Linked DNA regions of Homo sapiens: region 2 is linked to region 1. The links are contacts of gene promoters, found by promoter capture Hi-C in blood cells and fetal thymus (Javierre and others, 2016). All regions are on one chromosome and are shown on one strand. The core of a region is centred on a gene start or on the middle of the fragment in contact, and the rest is flanking DNA. Distances in the headings are between cores, read along the strand shown. Region 1 holds the start of LINC02210 (long intergenic non-protein coding RNA 2210). Region 2 holds the start of LOC124904014 (a long non-coding RNA gene).

Region 1 (5,883 bases), core at 1,863-4,362:
CTGGAAATAGCTTTAAAAGTAGGGCTTTGTGTACCAAATACATTCGTTAAAACCTAGGAAACTATAAAATGAAATCCAATGTATTGATCTCAATCCCCTTGCCTGCTTCCTAAAGAGGACAGAGGCCACCAACACTGGTGCTCAACACTTGCTAAGTCGAAACACTCTTACACAGGTCCTCTGATTCTTAACGGGTTCAGAACTTCTGGTTGCATTCCCCATGCAACCCCTCCAACTCTACAGGGAGAATGCTGGAAAAACTGTGTCACTTTGGCTTCCTGTATATTAATATAAGCACTCTTATCCAGCAATAGCAGCTGAAACATAAATGAAGATGAGAACTCAGCCTACATGACCTAAGATTTCCCACAAGTCCAGATATATAGGTTACACACACTGCACTATTGTCTGATTTCTCCTCTGCATCAATCTGGAAGTCCACAGAGCAGATTAGCACCCAACAATCTTAACTAAGCTAGTATCCAACTCTGAAGAAAGGCGAAGCTGGTGGAGGGTTTCCAAGACTCCTTATCCTTCTCTGTCCTTCCTCCCATCCCCTCCTTACGTCTTTTCTGTTTGTTTTTATTTAATTTTATTTTTTAATGTATTTTTAGTCACAAGAAAATCAAAGAAGCCACCTACTTAAGTCTTAAGCTCTGCCCTTTGCTTAGTCCTAATGGAGAGTTCTTTGGCCATCTATGTACAAGAGATTAGAGGAGCCAAAGAGACTGGAGAACCACATCAATGGGAGCTTTTTCATCTAAAGGTCATCTGTCCACACTGTCCAAATGAGGTTTACCCTGTGAAATAAAACTTGGTGTAAGTGCTACCTGCTGAGAAAAATAGTATGAAATGTCACACAAAGGACTGGGGTGCAGCAGGAGGACTCTGAAAGAGTCATACGTGTAAACCAGCAGGTCTTAGAATGCCCTAATATACTATATGAAGTTTCAGAGTAAACAAATGGTTAATGACACATCTTTTGTAACACGTGAATCAGCTACTGATTTGCAAGAGTGGGACACACCCTAGTACCTATGACTCTAAAGTACCTGTTTGAAAAGTGGACCTAGATGTTTGAATTGCCAACCCATCCTAAGACCGGAACATAATTTTACAACTATGTAAGTTGCCATAATTTAAAGTTAAAAAGATCACTGCCTTTCATTATAATGGAAGTTAATTTGAGAACTTCATTAAAACATTCACACCGATAATCAAAGAACAGTAGAGATACAAAGTAAGATATAGCCAATCAATCCTAGGAAGCAAACACAAGAGGCAAGAGAAATGGCAGGTAAAGGAAGTGAAGAATAGCAAATTCAAAAACTACAATATTCCCAATTCTAAAGAAAAATGAATAAAATGAGGCTGGTAATGAAAAAATAACACATCTTACCTTAAGAGGCATCCAAGTAGCATTCATAGTGTCAGGATATAAAGACAATACTCAGAAATGAGCAAGAAGTCTTAGAAATTCCCTCGGTTACCAAGTATAAGCAGGTAGGAAAATCTTTTGTTTCGAGAAGGTATCTGAAAGAGAGGATTTTCATTTAGACTAAAAAATAATCAAGACAATGCAAATAGTTTAAGCTACCTGGGCAGGGATTTTGAAGTACTATTTGCCTCATCGCACTAAAAAAGTATAGAAAATACAGTCCCCTTTAGAAAAGGGCAAATGTGTGTCTCCATATATATGTGTGTAGAAACATACTTTACATAAAAAGAGAAATAAATATGTAACACGTATTTTAGATAATGTAAAATTGCTTATCAAACAATTAGCCAAAATCCCAGAGAGAATAAAGTAATTTTCCAGGGTACTTCATAAACACTAAACGTGATTTGTTAATTAACCGTCTAAAAAAGACCCTTGCCACATTTAATTATATTTAGTAAAGTAAAACTTCTCTAATCATCCCGACTGTCCCAAGATTATGCTTAAGTTTCAGAGTCAATTCCACATGAAAAGTAAAACCTATTCTTGACTGAAGTACTAGAAACAAATAAAGGACCCTTCTTCCCCAGAGATCGTTAAAAGCAGACCGAGCAACTTAATTTTGAGGGTGGGAGGAAGGTAAATTTGCCTGGAGGCAGGAGGATGGACTAAATGACCTCTGGTAGGATCCTCGTTCAAGTCCTGGGCCTGTATACAATTCCAGCTTAACCAGTTACTGCTTCGCTTAAAATGGAGGCTTGCCCGCGTAGGGACAAAAATAACAGCACCCACTTCTTAAAAATAAATGTCGAAAAGTACCCCTTTTTAAATAAAAATAAAAAATAAACACCTCTGGAGTGGATGTGTTCTTGCTATGCGTTTGTCACTGAGGCTTCGAAGACTTGGCATCACTTTCCTTACCGCTCACCGGATTTTGGGGGAGGAGCGGGGGGCGACAGTTTGACTCTTGACCCAAGTCTCAGGCGGACTTCAGAGCCCCACAGGGGCCCCCAACTCCAGAGCCAGAGGGAGCGGAGAGGCGAGAGCCCGAGATCGCACCTCCCCCCACCGCGGACCCCAGTCCCAAACCCACCCCTCACCTCCCCGCAGTGGGGCGCCTCCTTCTGCCCCATTCCCATTGTTAGGGAGGGCAGAGCGCGGGGTGGGCTCAGGGCAGGGGCGCCCGCGGCCGCTGCCCGGCTCGCTTCAGGAGGGGCGCCCCGCGGGATGCGGCTTCCCTTCCTCTCCGCGTCGGTCCGTCCCACCTCGGCTCGGCCTGGCGCCCCGAGCTCCGCTCCGCGCCCCCGGCCGCGGCCCCGGCCCGCCCCCCGGGCAGCCAGGCCCTCAGGCCACTCGGCCGGCAGCCCGCGTCCCAGGCCTACGAGTGGGCGCTGGGCGGGCGTCCCCGTGCCCCACACACGCGTCCCCTCTCCCCCAGCCCCGCCGCTTCCAGGGCCCTCGGCGGCGCCCGCTCCCCGGGCCCCGCGGCCCCCCGCCTCCCAGCCAGGCCGCTCCCTCGAGCTCGTCGGGTCAGGGACACCTCCTCTACCTCACCATCACCCTGGCCCACTCGTGCCCCCACCCCCAGGGGCACCAGTGCCAAAGGCAGCTCCCCCAGCCCCGGACCTACCTGCACGGTTCAACCAAGCCTAGAAGTGGGGGCGGGGAATCTTCCGCCCTCCTCTGGCGCTCATTGGCCCTTCAGGGGCACATCGTGAGCGCCATTGGCTGAGCAATGGTGTCCGTCAGAGCGATGGGGCGGGACAGAAGGGGAAGAGGGATGCAGGTGCCTTGGCGTCTCTGTCTCTGTGCATCTCGTTGTCTCTGTCTCTGTCTCAGCCCTTGGAAACGAGAGGCTTTTGGCTGAGAGGACTAGAAGGGGGCCTGAGGTGGGAGGAATAGGAATAGGAATCCTGACAGAGCGTCACGCCAGTTGGCAACTCTGAACCCCCTACCTAAGTCCCCTTTAGGTTCTCTTCTCCATCACCCCCAACCCCTGCCCCTCACCCCTCGAGATTCTTTCATCCAGGAAGCGACGTGATGAAAACTCCAGGCCGGAAGGCCATAGGGAGAGATGTTATATATGTATATAAAATATACACATATAAATGTTTATATATAAACTCAACCAGATATCAGTTCACTAGGGCCTGGAAAGGAAAGGGCACACATCTCACAGACAGGGAAGGACTTGAGATAGAGCCGGTAGAAGAAGGAATCAAAAATCACTCTAAGAGCTGGCAACAGTGGTTACCTCCTGGGAGAGGAACTGAGTGCCTAGGGAACCAGTGGGCGGAAGACTTACATATCTCGGCATATCATTTGTATCCATTGATTTTTGCACCACTCATCAAGATTCCAATTTAAAGAAAAGGATTTAAATGTTTAAATAAGGTCGCAAAACCAGGGGACAGACAAGATAATTGGGCAGGAAAATTGGCGCAACATGCAGATTTGGGGAGGAATCTTAGCTTTTAATATGTTCAGTTCCCGGTAACAGGGTTTTGTAAAACCCAGTGAAGGTGTCCCAGAGGCAACTGAAGTTATGGAACTTGAGAAAGGGTAGACAATCAGGACTAGAGAAGATGCAGGGTCCTCTGCCTAAAGATAGTGATCTATGACATGCTAAAGGATAAACTCCCAAAGAAGGGTAATAAGACACCCACAGTAAAAGGTAGGAGGACGAAAAAGAATGTCAGTGAGGTAAAAGAAACAATATTAAAGAGGCATGAAAATTAAGGGAGGAAGGGTCTGTGGAAAATAGAATAATAAAACTATGAGAGAGGCCGGGCACGGTGGCTCACACCTGTAATCCCAGCACTTTGGGAGGCCAAGGTGGGTGGATCACCTGAGGTCAGGAGTTCGAGACCAGCCTGCGCAGCATGGTGAAACCCGATCTCTAATAGAAATGCAAAAAAAAAATTAGCCAAGCGTGGTGGCGCGCCTCTGTAATCCCAGCTACTGGAAAGGCTGAGGTGGGAGAATTGCTTGAACCGGGAGGCGGAGGCTGCAGTGAGCCAAGATCGCGCCACTGCACTCCAGCCTGGGCGACAGAGCGAGACCCTGTTTCAAAAAAAAAAAAAAAAAAAAAAAACTGTGAGAGCCTCATAGGTCTTACCTCTTTACCTCTTTAGGCTCTGGTAACCATGGGACAATAAGAATGAAAGCCAAGGCCGGGCACGGTGGCTCACGCCTGTAATCCCAGCATTTTGGGAGGCCAAGGTGGGCGGATCACAAGGTCAGGAGATCAAGACCATCCTGGCCAACATGGTGAAACCACGGGCATGGTGGCGCATGCCTGTAATCCCAGCTACTCGGGAGGCTGAGGCAGGAGAATTGCTTGAACCAGGGAGTCAGAGGTTCCAGTGAGCCGATATCACGCCACTGCACTCCAGCCTGGATGACAGAGTGAGACTCCGACTCAAAAAAAAAAAAAAAAAACCAAAAAAAAAAAAAAAAAAAACCACCTTTATCGATTAAGAATCTTTTTTCTGAGTTTATTAATTCTATTTAAATCAACCCCAGAAAACACCTTCAACACAGCCTCTCATTTCATATCTGTAAAATGGGGCAAAAAAAATAGTTCCTACCCTTTAGAGTTGTTGTGAAGATTAAATTAGTGAATACATATGATGGATTTTTTTTCTTTTCTCTTTTTTTTGAGACACAGTCTCGCTCTGTCTCCCAGGCTGGAGTGCAGTGGCACTATCTCAGCTCACTGCAAGCTCCGCCTTCCGGGTTCACGCCATTCTCCTGTCTCAGCCTCCTGAGTAGCTGGGACTACAGGCGTCCGCCAGCATGCCCGACTAATTTTTTGTTATTTTTAGTAGATACGGGGTTTCACCGTGTTAGCCAGGATGGTCTCAATCTCCTGACCTCGTGATCCGCCCGACTTGGCCTCCCAAGTGCTGGGATTACAGGCATGAGCCATGGCGCCCGGCCTGTGTGATGGATTTTTTAAGAGCCTGACTGGCGGGGTGAGGCGGCTCATGACTGTAATCGCAGCACTTTGAGAGGCTGAGGCAGGTGAATCACTTGAAGCCAGGAGTTCGAGACCAGCCTGGGCAACAGGGCGAGACCTCGTCTCTACAAAAACACACACACAAAAATTAGCTGGGCATGATGGTGCATGCCTGTAGTCCCAGCTACTCAGGAGACTGAGGTGAGGGTCGCTTGAGCCTGGGAGGCAGAGGTTGCAGTCAGCCGAGATCTCACCACTGCATTTCAGCCTGGGTGACAGTGTAAGAACATGTCAAAAAACAAACAAACAAACAAAAACAACAACAACAAAAAAACGCACGAAAAAAACCACATAAGCTCCTTGAGGGCAGAAACTGTCCCCTAGTCTTCTATATTTTATTTCACACAATGTACAGAAGACTAAATGAATAATTGTTAGCTGGTTTTTTTTTTAAAAGGGGATAAGATCAGTTACAATGTCTTTT
Region 2 (5,835 bases), core at 3,336-5,835, 650 kb before region 1:
CAAAAAAAAAAAAAAAAAGAAAAAAAGAAAAAAATTACAATGCAAAGAATTGTATAAAGACAACTTGCTGTTGCATTTTTAGGGAATTTCTATTGCTTTCCAGATTTAAGGTAGAATGAAACATAACTAGCCAGTTATTGAAACTTGATTTTATTATGGGTTTCCAGAATTTCCTTTGCCATATTTTCCCATTGTAATTTATGATCTCCAGCATTGTTTGCACATTGTTTTCATTACTGCACTTTGTTATAATTCATCATTTATACCATCCATATTCTTTCTTTTCTTACGGATTGTGATATCTTTAGTCTAAATTTTTAACTGGAATCAGAACTGGATGTTGGGGTCACTGTTTTATTGTACCTTGTGATTACGTAATCCAAAATTGCCCCCCAAAAAGTCAGGTTAGCTAATATAATTTTTTAATGTTAACGATGTATAGTGGTAAAAAATTTATTCTAGCAGCCACGTGAAACAATGTATTTAAAAATTGTAAACTATTGGAATACTGTATTTATCTGCTATTGCAATATAAATTTATCTGCTATTGCAATATAAAGTCCTTTGACTTAGTCCTGGTAACTGTACAGTAATTTGGTTTACTGACAAAAGTTGTGAGGCCAGCCTTGGTGGCTCACACTTGTAATCCCAGCACTTTGGGAGGCCGAGGCGGGCGGATCACCTGAGGTCAGGAGTTTGCGACCAGCCTGGCCAACATGGTGAAACCTCGTCTCTACAAAAAGTACAAAAATTAGCCGGGTGTGGTGGCAGGCACCTGTAATCCCAGCTACTCGGGAGGCTGAGGCAGGAGAATCGCTTGAATCTGGGAGGCAGAGGTTGCAGTGAGCCAAGATCGCGCCTTTGCACTACAGCCTGGGGACAAAAGCGAGACTTCGTCTCAAAAAAAAAAAAAATTGTGAATAAAACTGTGTGAAACTGGGAGACTTTCTGGACTTTAATAGAAAAATATGATTTTAAAATTGCTTTTTCTTTTGTTTTAGCATAATTTTTCCCTTTATATTCCCCTCATCCGTGTAAATAAACACACACATACACACACACACGCACCTTTCACCACAATGGTAATGCTTCTGTAAATGTCTCTATTTGTCCAGTTGCCTGAAAATGTTGTAATCTTTATTAGACAAATATATATACATACATATTTTAAATATTGGCTTTTTCCAGTGAGCTATTATGCTTAGTGTACAGTGAAAAGTTTTATTATTATAGGTTAAAAATTTCTTAATCGTTCTTTTCTATTCGCTTGCCAAGGGTGAATGAAAGAACATGGCTGCTTCTTCCAGATTTATTTACTTTGGCATCCGCATAAAGCATCATTTTCAAAAATGAAAGGTGCTCAATTGTTCCCTTTTTCTATACTCTGTAGGTCTCACAACAACAAACTGCAGTCTACAGCTTCCTAAAGTTCAGCATGTTAACCTAACATAAAACACAGCAAGAATCTTGTTGCCTGAACTATTTTAAATTAAGGAGCCAGATCTTTTTAGTGAGGCTATCCTGACAAGACTTGACCTAAACTTTGTTTTTATTGGTCATAACAGTCCAATTATATTATTGGCCAATTTTGTCCAATGGACAAGAAAAAAGCAAAGTTGCCAGGTGCGGTGGCTCACGCCTGTAATCCCAGCACTTTGGGAGGCCAAGGCGGGCGGATCATCTGAGGTCGGGAGTTCGAGACCAGCCTGACCAATATGGAGAAACCCCGTCTCTACCAAAAATACAAAATTAGCTGTGCATGGTGGCCTATGCCTGTAATCCCAGCTACTTGGGAGGCTGAGGCAGGAGAATCGCTGGAACCCGGGAGGCAGAGGTTGTATTGAGCCGAGATTGAGCCATTGCACTCCAGCCTGGGTGACAAGAACAAAACTCCGTTTCAAAAACAAAAAAAGGAAGAAAAGAAAAAGAAAAAAGAAAAGTCAACGACACCATTATCTTGTCAAGATCAAATGGTTTTATTATTGTGGCAGAAGCGAGAAAATTTTGTTTATTAAAAAAAAAAAAGAAAAAGAAAGCAAGAAACAATGATACTGTGGGGTCAAGTATAACTCCATGGAAATGCCACGTCTGCTCTTCAGTGAAGAAGCTGGTTTAGAGTCTCAAAGAAAACTTTTGACTGTATTTATTTATTGTTGCAAAAAAGATGCTTTTTTATTGCTGCCCTCATTTGTCAACTAATTATTTTTTCTTATAAAATCCAGCCACGGTTACATATAATCCATCCATATCTTATCAATGATTCCTGTACGTAAAAGTACAAGACAACCTCTAGATGTCTTTTCTTTCTATGAAAGGAGCTGCTATGTACACATGTGCACACACACACAACTGCGAATCAACAATGAGTTTATTGTTCATGGTAGATTAAAATCAAGCTTGCATAAAGGTTGGGCTAAGTGGTCCTGGACTACAGACTCTGGTGACTTGAATATAACAGTACAATTTGTCAATTACTCCACACCAGGTTGAAATGAGTAAAATCTATTTGAAGGTATCTTCTTTGTAAACATTTGTCAGATTCTAATTTTTCTTTTTGTATTAAAATTCAACTATGGATGTATGTGAAACAAAATAAATGGAGATAGTTTTTCTCCCACAGACAGAGGTGTCTTTGAATGTGTGCTAATGATTATCTGTAAGCCTCTGTGGGGAGGGAGGGCTGCAAGGTCATGAAAGGCAAAAGAATCTAATTGTACCTGGAATTCTCCTGGACAGCAGTGGCCCCTCGTTTTATCATTCCCAGTCAATTGTCATCACGTCAGAGAAGAATCTTCAGGGGTGCTAATCCTGTCGCATCAGTTGATCATACTAACGAAAAAGGTAATGCGACAAGATACACATTGCCTTCATCTGTACATTCTGTGATACTGGGCAAATTACCAATTACAGACAGCTACTTATATTGTATGAAGGACATTTTTTGTTAGATGATCTCATCCTCTGTGTTATTTGTTGATTGGGTTTGTTTTTTGCTTGTTGGTTTGTTTGTTTCTTCCATGTAAGGAAAAGTAGTGTAAGCAGTAGGAAGAAAATGAGGAAGATGTATTTTGCATGTTCTTCCTTTCAATGTTCTTACACATTGTATTACTGCATTGTGGTAATAGCTTCTATAAAATCTGCCATAGCTGGATTATGCAGCTTTGCAAAAATTCTACTAGATTTTATTCTAACTCATATTAGCTTTGTCCTATCAACTTCTGGAATTTATCTAATTATTGCTTTTAAAAGTTTCCTTCCTTTCAACGTTTCCCTGCTATGCAAAACCTTTCCCAGACCTTGGTTTCTTAAAAGAAAGATGTTGCTACAGTTCCCAATTCTTTCTTATTACAGGCTCAGGTGTACAGGTTATTCTGGCTTAATTTTATCTAATGAAGCCCATTCCTTTTTGTACATGAAGATGTCACTTAAACCTATGTTTACAAACTAAAGAGACTAATCACTCAATATGAAAACATGAAAACATTTTTGCTTAAAATATTAAGATGGAAATACTTAAATATGGATTATTTTGTCCTTTTACTTTTTAAAAAAAGTTACATATTGTATGCACTGTGCTGATGCAAGAATTCTACATTTTAATGAATTATAAAATTATTCTGCATCTCATCACGTCACAGTATTTCTGCACTATTTATTCATATATATAGAAATATATATGGGCTTAATCATTTAAAATTTGTTGCAGCAAGAACTTTCCTACCTGTAGGCAATAGATTGCTATGTTTTCAACAAATTGTGGCAAATTCTAAACAGCAATTCTTTTGTATGTAATAGGACATTTCATACTAGAAAAATAAAGTAATGTTTTTGACATTGGATTTGGTGCAGTTTCTAATGAAGCAACGGTTGGTTGGTGGTAATATGTCTTCTGTAGCTGTTAGCATTGCCAAATTAAAAAGGGTAAATTTTATGGAAATCCTGAGACCAGGAAGATATTAATTTCATGTGTATTTAATGGTATAAAGTGTTTTACAGTTTCTATCACCATACAAATACATAAAGACATTTTATAGTTTTATCAACTATAGGGCTTTAGTCTTTCAAAAGTAATTTTTGAAAAACACACATTCCTGGCCAGGTGTGGTGGCCCACGCCTGTAACCCCAGCACTTTGGGAGGCCGAGGCAGGGGGGATCACCTGAGGTCAGGAATTTGAGACCAACCTGGCCAACATGGTGAAACCCCATCTCTACTAAAAGTACAAAAATTAGCCAGGCATGGTGGCAGGCACCTGAAATCCCAGCTACTAGGGAGGCTGAGGCAGGAGAATCACTTGAACCTGGGAGGCGGAGGTTGCAGTGAGCCGTGATCACGCCATTGCACTCCAGCCTGGGGGACAAGAGTGAGACTTCATCTCAAAAAAAATAAAAAAGAAAGAAAAACATACATTTTTTAGAACATAATGAGTTCTGAAAGCTGCTTTTCTGTGAGTAATCTTTGAAAGCTTCTGCTATTAAGATCTATATAACACAGCTATTTTGCTTTCAATAATCCAGGCAGTAAACTGTACATTTGTGATACTCTTAGGATGTTTCTACCACAGGCCTTGGGCTTGTAAATATATTTAATTTGCATCAGTAGATTTCCTTGGCTAAAAGTATTTTCAATAACTGTTATGCTTCACCTGCCAAGTTCACAATCCTTGAAACCATTTCATGAAAAGTATTTTCCTATTGGTAAAGCTTTTATTCTCCTATCCAAATTCTACAGGAGGTTTAAATAAAATTGTGGCTGGGCATGGTGGCTCACGCCTATAATCCCAGCACTCTGGGAGGCTGAAGCGGGCAGATCACAAGGTCAGGAGTTAGAGACCTGCCTGACCAACATGGTGAAACCCTGTTTCTACTAAAAATACAACAATTTAGCTGGACAAGTGGCACACACCTGTAGTCCCAGCTACTCAGGAGGCTGAGGTGGGAGGATGGCTTGAACTGGGGAGGCAGAGGTTGTAGTGAGCTGAGATTGTGCCACTGCACTCCAGCCTGAGCGACACAGCAAGACTCTGTCTCAAAAAAAAAGTGAACTTTTGGAGATATTTTCTGAAGTAAAATAATTACCTTTTTATATTCCAAATGGCCTAGAGTGTTATTTAGAGACACTAAGATTTGCTGTTGTTTGTAATCTACCTTCCTGGGATCTGCAAATAAAAGTTATTTCCCTATTTCTGCTAATTCCTTTAGGCAAACTCTCTACTTCTTTATGTTAAAGAGCCAACCTGGTGGACTTTCAGATCTCTGCACACTTAGTTAGACAAAGTTACATGGTTATTACAGCTTTCACTCTTCCTGATTGAAACTATCATGATACGGCTGGGCGTGGTGGCTCACACGTATAATCCCAGCACTTTGGGAGGCCAAGGCAGGTGGATCACCTGAGGTTGGGAGTTTGAAACCAGCCTGACAAACATGGAGAAACCCCATCTCTACTAAAAATACAAAAAAAAAAAAAAAAAAAAATTAGCTAGGTAAAGTGGCGCATGCCTGTAATCCCAGCTACTTGGGAGGCTAGAGCAGGAGAATCACTTGAACCCAGGAGGGAGAGGTTGCGGTGAGCTGACATCATGCCATTACACTCCAGCCTAGGCAACAAGAGCGAAACTCCTTCTCAAAAAAAAAAAAAAAAAAGAAACTATTACCATAGGTCTCAGATTTCTTGCCCTTAATGTGAGAATGGGGATATTCCATGGATAAAATAATGAAGTACTTGAGGAGGTGGAGGGAAGAGCCAACCGAGAAGTATTTTTAATAATTTGAAACATTCTAAGGTATTTCTAGATACTTGGAGTGAGATACTAAAAGACTTTTCTTAGAAGATT

Evidence for each region. The method cuts DNA at HindIII sites, captures the fragments that hold promoters and counts their contacts. A CHiCAGO score of 5 or more calls a contact.
Region 2: a fragment that was not itself captured here is called in contact with the fragment with the promoter of LINC02210 in region 1 in 3 of 17 cell types (M1 macrophages, erythroblasts and monocytes); the score reaches 7.3 in M1 macrophages.

The regions. Positions count from the first base shown.
Region 1 is chr17:45,617,558-45,623,440 of GRCh38, reverse strand. It overlaps LINC02210 (long intergenic non-protein coding RNA 2210), which reads right to left and starts at 3,112. Exons shown (of 6, transcript NR_138260.1): 1 at 3,069-3,112; 2 at 1,400-1,533. LINC02210-CRHR1 (LINC02210-CRHR1 readthrough) reads right to left here and starts at 3,095. Exons shown (of 15, transcript NM_001256299.3): 1 at 3,069-3,095; 2 at 1,400-1,533. RefSeq lists an enhancer at 3,979-4,958. The HindIII fragment of the contact is 33,843 bases long and covers 1-5,883 here.
Region 2 is chr17:46,270,974-46,276,808 of GRCh38, reverse strand. LOC124904014 (a long non-coding RNA gene) reads right to left here and starts at 2,793. Exons shown (of 3, transcript XR_007065823.1): 1 at 2,718-2,793. It also overlaps a transcript of LRRC37A not described here and a transcript of ARL17B not described here. The HindIII fragment of the contact is 238 bases long and covers 4,467-4,704 here.